2 separate regions of the Homo sapiens genome follow, and region 1 is linked to region 2. Evidence: promoter capture Hi-C in 16 types of primary human blood cells and fetal thymus (Javierre and others, 2016). All regions are on one chromosome and are shown on one strand. Each heading gives the region's core, a stretch centred on a gene start or on the middle of the fragment in contact. The rest is flanking DNA. Distances are from core to core; before and after follow the strand shown. Region 1 overlaps PHF20 (PHD finger protein 20). Region 2 holds the start of CPNE1 (copine 1).

Region 1 (2,700 bases), core at 84-2,583, 280 kb after region 2:
ATTGACTGACTCTCTTTGCTGTTGGAGTGACCCATCCAGTCCTGACTGCCTTTTGTCCATTTATTTATTTTTATTTTATTTTATTTTTTTAAGACGGAGTCTTGCTCTTTCTCGCCCAGGCTGGAGTACAGTGGCATGATCTCGGCTTACTGAAGCCTCTGCCTCCCAGGTTTAAGCGACTCTTCCTTCCTCAGCCTCCCAAGTAGCAGGCAGATGCCTGCCACCACACCTGGCTGATTTTGTATTTTTAATAGAGATGGGGTTTCACCATGTTGGCCAGGCTTGTCTTGAATTTCTGACCTCAGGTGATCCACCTCCCTTGACCTCCCAAGGTGTTGGGATTACAGGCGTGCACGTCCGGCCTCTCCATTTATTCTTCTGCCTGTTTGCTGAACAGTCCCCTGTCTCCTTCTAGTTTTTTTTAAAGACTTACTGGTGTTTTGAAACTGGTCACTATCCAGTTTTCTTGCTCAGCAGGCCACTAGTTCCTCTCACATGACTGATCTTTTACTAATGGTTTTCAAGCTTAAGTCTGAGGAGGTGGTCTTATTTTTCTTATTTCCAAGTCCTTGTACTTGCTGGAATTAGGAAGAGAGAGGGTTCCTCCTTCTTGGAACCCCCAAATACCAACAAGAAATATGATGGAGGAGGATAAACTACATAGGGCCCAGAGCAATGGGTAGGGCGCTTTGCTGGACCACACATTCCTTCTCTCGCTGTGTTTGTTGCAGGCTTGCCACATTTCAGACACAGGTGAGTGTTAGGGATATAGTGGCAAGCAAGGCAGACTCAGCCTTTGCCCTCGTGGAACTTGATCTAGTGGGAGAGACATATATTAAACAAATCATCCCATTACCTGTAATGACAAACCATAGTAAATGCTCAAAGGAGAACATGTGATATCATAGCACCTGTAACACAAGGACCAGATTCAGGGTATAGGGTTGGGGAAGGCTTCCCTAAAGAATAGCTCACAAGAAACAGAGGATTTAGAAAGGTGGAGAGGAAGGTAGGGCTGCATCTGAGGACAGGAGAGGATTGCGCAGTAGGTTGCAGGCTGCTTGATGAAGAGGTACTGGGTGGGCCTTTCTTTTGCTGCACTCCAGGGTCCAGAAGGTGCTCAGTACAGGTTGGTGCATGGACTAGAAAGGCTACAGGCAGGCTGGGATAGCACAGGGGCTACCTGCAGGGGGTGGTTCTTGTCAAAGGTGCAGGGTTCCCAGATGGTCTCTCCCCAAATGCCAGAGCTTTAGGGGGTAGCTTAGGGAAGAACAAACATCTTTCTGTAGAGAAATACTTGTTCTCACAAGCAAGACAGCTTTCTAGATATTGAACCAATGATGATAATGTTAATTAATACCTGAAATCTTACATTAAATATTTAAAGGGGTCCTGCATGGTGGTTCATGCCTGTAATCCTAGCACTTTCAAAGTGGCCAAGGCAGGTGGATCACCTGAGGTCAGGAGTTCGAGGCCAGCCTGGCCAACATGATGAAACCCCATCTCTACTAAAAATAACAAAAATTAGCCAGGCGTGGTGGTGTGTGCCTGTAATACCATCTCCTCAGGAGGCTGAGGCAGGAGAATCGCCTGTACCCGGGAGGCGGAGGTTGCAGTGAGTCGAGATCATTGCCATTGTACTCCAGCCCAGGCAACAAGAGCGAAACTCTGTCTCAAAAGAAAAAAAAAGGCCAGGCCCAGTGGCTCATGCCTGTAATCCTAGCAGTTTGGGAGGCCGAGGTGGGTGGATCACCTGAGGTCAGGAGTTTGAGACCAAAATACAAAAATTCGCCGGGCGTGGTGGCACATGCCTGTAATCCCAGCTACTTTGGAGGCTGAGGCAGGAGAATCGCTTGAACCTAGGAGGCAGAGATTACAGTGAGCTGAGATGGCGCCACTGCACTCCAGCCTGGGCGACACAGTGAGACTCCATCTCAAAAAAATAAATAAATAAGTAAATAAATAAAGGGAGAAAATAATAACAGAGTATTCTGTGCCACTGATGATTGCGTATCAATCAGGAATTAATATGAAGCAAATCAGAGTTTATGATATACAAATAGACCTTTTCAAGACCCTATAGATTTTCATTTTTCTTGACAGGATGCTAAAACACCAGGCTCTCTGATTTTCAACATGGGAAAGCTTTTTATTTTTTATTTTATTTTATTTTATTTTATTTTATTTATTTTATTTTATTTTATTTTATTATTTTATTTATTTTATTTTTTGAGATGGAGTCTCGCTTTGTCGCCAGGCTGGAGTGCAGTGGCACGATCTCGGCTCACTGCGACCTCCGCCTCCCGGGTTCAAGCAATTCTCCTGCCTCAGCTTCCTGAGTAGCTGGGACTACAGACGGGCACCACCATGCCTGGCTAATTTTTGTATTTTTAGTGGAGATGGGGTTTCACCATGTTGGCCAGGATGGTCTTGATCTCTTGACCTTGTGATCTGCCCGCCTCGACCTCCCAAAGTGCTGGGATTATAGGCATGTGCCACCGCGCCCGGCTGGGAAAGCTTTTTAAAGAGTGAGTGGTAACACTCAGAAAGGTGCTTCCTTCCAAGACTTCTAGACTCTGGTAACAGTAGCCTCTGGCAATGTGTGGCTGTTTAACCAAAACTGAATAAAATTTAAAATTCAGTTCCTCAGTTGCATTAGCCATGTTTCCAGCGCTCAATAGCTGCATAAGGCTAGTGGCT
Region 2 (2,700 bases), core at 43-2,542:
GGCCCAGAAATCTCTTAAAGTCTGCAATTCTCAGCATGACACCACGCAGATGAGTAAATGTTTAGCACTTAATACTGAGTAACCCTCACAAGAGCCCCTCAGATTTGTCACTATAAAGCACACGTTGGAGGCACACAAAAAGCCCGTACGTTTACAACCTAGCAGCTAAGCCTGCTGCACTGGCGTCCAACCCCGTCACTAACCTGTAGATCCTCAAAGTCCCTCCCACCACCCAATTCACGTGGCTGCAAACTAATGCAGCCAAGCTTCAGAGAAACTCAATTAACTCTCCATCAAAAGCACCCACCCTCCGCAGCCCACTGGATCTCGTCCTCCTGAAATGCCACAGGATCCTCTCCCGAGGGAGCCGTAAATGTGCTGCTCACAGCAGCCCCTTCCCTACTGGGGGACCAAAGGCCTGGCATCTTACTACAATTCTCAGAGCCTCAGGAGGCGTACTCACCCCACCCCCTCACCTCCTAGCTTCAGACGCCGGCTTCTCAAAACTGCTACACCCTCGAGTAAAGCCCCTCCCCAGCAATGGACCTCGGAGGCATTTCACTGCAAACCCCTCCACCTTCAGGCCACGAAGGCGGCCGGTTGTGACACTTCCTTTCTGAACTCACAGGAGTGTACCGACTACAGCTTCCTCCCCACAGGTGTGACCTGGGTCCCCTTTTGCTGGTAGGCCACAAAGGCCTCCTTTCCATTTCGGGTTGAAGGAGTGTCCTCACTACGATTATCTCCCCACCTCCAGGCACAGAGATGTAGTTATAACCTCTGCTTCACTGGGGGAGACAAGAAATCCTCCGTACTCGGGATGTAGGCGTGTTTTTACTGCAGTCCCCGTTAGCTCGCAGGCCGCTGAGCCAGCCAGCTCTGGCCTGCCCCCTCTCAGACCACGGGGGAGTCCTCGCTATGGCCTCGTCCCCACTTCGGTACGCAGGCTCATCCTCTTGCGTCCTCCTTGCATCCTCTCAGATCTCAGAGGCCTAAGTGGCATCCCACTCCCCCTGCAGCCCTGCCTCGACCCTTTGTGTGGGGCGCTAGTTGCCGCGGGCTCGAAGGCCTCCGAAGGCCCCGCCCCGGGCCACCAAGGGGCACCACGAGCCCCGCACAGCCCCACCCGTTCAGGGGCTGCGGGAGTCTTACCGGGGAAAGCTGCGCGGCACCAGAACCCAGACCCCGAATTACCCCCCGCGCGAGTGCCTCCGCCCCGCGGCCGACAGCCCCAGCCCGAACGGCTTCCCGGAGCCCAACGCAGCCACCACCTCCTTCGCCGCTTCACAAAATGGCCGTCGGCCCGCTCAGCGGCTCCGCGTTCCAGAAGGGGGAGGAACGGCGTGGTTGACGTCAAGGGGCCGCGCAAGCGCGCTGACGGTCTCGGGCGATCTCCCGGAAGTTACTGGGTTTTGTGCTAAGAGGGGGATATTCAGTCCCTGCTTGCGACTGTTGGCGCACAGGACCGACCTTGGGCTAGTGGCCCTGGCGGGTGGGCTGGGTATGAGTGTCTAGCTTGGCCCTTCACTGCAAGACTGTGCAAATTGCTTCACGTCTTCCAGTTTCCGCGGAAGGAGCGAATTGTGCTTACCTCTAAGTTTTTTGAGGATTAAATGGACCACAACGTGGTGGCTAGTTATTATATCCTGACAAAACAGCCAAAACCTGATTCTTTTTTCCCATTTAAGAGTTTATACAGGCCGGGGGCCGGGCGCGGTGGCTCACGCCTGTAATCCCAGCACTTTGGGAGGCCGAGGCGGGCGGATCACGAGGTCGGGAGATCGAGACCATCCTGGCTAACACGGTGAAACCCCGTCTCTTCTAAAAAATACAAAAAATTAGCCGGGCGTGGTGGCGGGCACCTGTAGTCCCAGCTACTCGGGAGGCTGAGGCAGGAGAATAGCGTGAACCTGGGAGGCGGAGCTTGCAGTGAGCCGAGATTGCGCCACTGCACTCCGGCCTGGGCGAAAGAGCAAGACTCCATCTCAAAAAAAAAAAAAAAAAAAAAAAAAGTTTATACAGGCCGAGCGCGGTGGCTCACGCCTATAATCCCAGCACTTTGGGAGTCCGAGAAGGGCGGATCATGAGGTCAGGAGTTCGAGACCGGTCTGGCCAACAAGGCAAAACCCAGCCTCTACTAAAAATACAAAAACTAGCTGGGTGTGGTGGCGGTGCTTGTGGTCCCAGCTACTTGGGAGGCTGAGGCAGGAGAATCGCTTGAACCCGGGAGGTGGAGGTTGCAGTGAGCCCAGATGGCGCCATTGCACTCCACCCTGGATGACAAAAGCGAAACTTCGTCTCAGAAAAAAAAACAAAAAAAGAGTTTTAATCTAGGGCAGGGCGCAGTGGCTCACGCCTGTAATCCCAGCATTTTGGGAAGCCGAGGCGGGCGGATTACCTGAGGTCAGGGGTTCAAGACCAGCATGGCCAACATGGCGAAACCTCGTCTCTACTAAAAATACAAACATTAGCTGGGCGTGCTGGCTGGCGCCTGTGGTCCCAGCTACCAGGGTGGCTGAGGCAGGAGAATCGCCTGAATCCGGGAGGTGGCGGTTACAGTGAGCCAAGATAACGCCATAGCACTCCAGCCTAGGCGACAGAGCAAGATTCCGTCTCAAAAAAAAAAAAAAAATTAAATCCATCGTGACCCCTCCACGGCTTCACTATAGTATTATTTTATTATAGAAAAAGCTATTCTCT

What was found. The method cuts DNA at HindIII sites, captures the fragments that hold promoters and counts their contacts. A CHiCAGO score of 5 or more calls a contact.
Region 1: a contact is called between a fragment that was not itself captured here and the fragment with the promoter of CPNE1 in region 2, in 1 of 17 cell types (endothelial precursors). The highest score is 5.3, in endothelial precursors.

The regions. Positions count from the first base shown.
Region 1 is chr20:35,944,498-35,947,197 of GRCh38, forward strand. The region is part of intron 17 of PHF20 (PHD finger protein 20); the gene reads left to right. Among named protein-coding and RNA genes, the nearest start is that of SCAND1, 8.7 kb to the right of the region's middle. The HindIII fragment of the contact is 1,620 bases long and covers 524-2,143 here.
Region 2 is chr20:35,663,608-35,666,307 of GRCh38, forward strand. CPNE1 (copine 1) reads right to left here and starts at 1,293. Exons shown (of 16, transcript NM_152925.3): 1 at 1,153-1,293. It overlaps RBM12 (RNA binding motif protein 12), which reads right to left and starts at 1,293. Exons shown (of 3, transcript NM_006047.6): 1 at 1,153-1,293. RefSeq lists enhancers at 2-121, 116-621, 462-511, 832-941, 1,126-1,630 and 1 more and a silencer at 860-1,154. The HindIII fragment of the contact is 6,109 bases long and covers 265-2,700 here.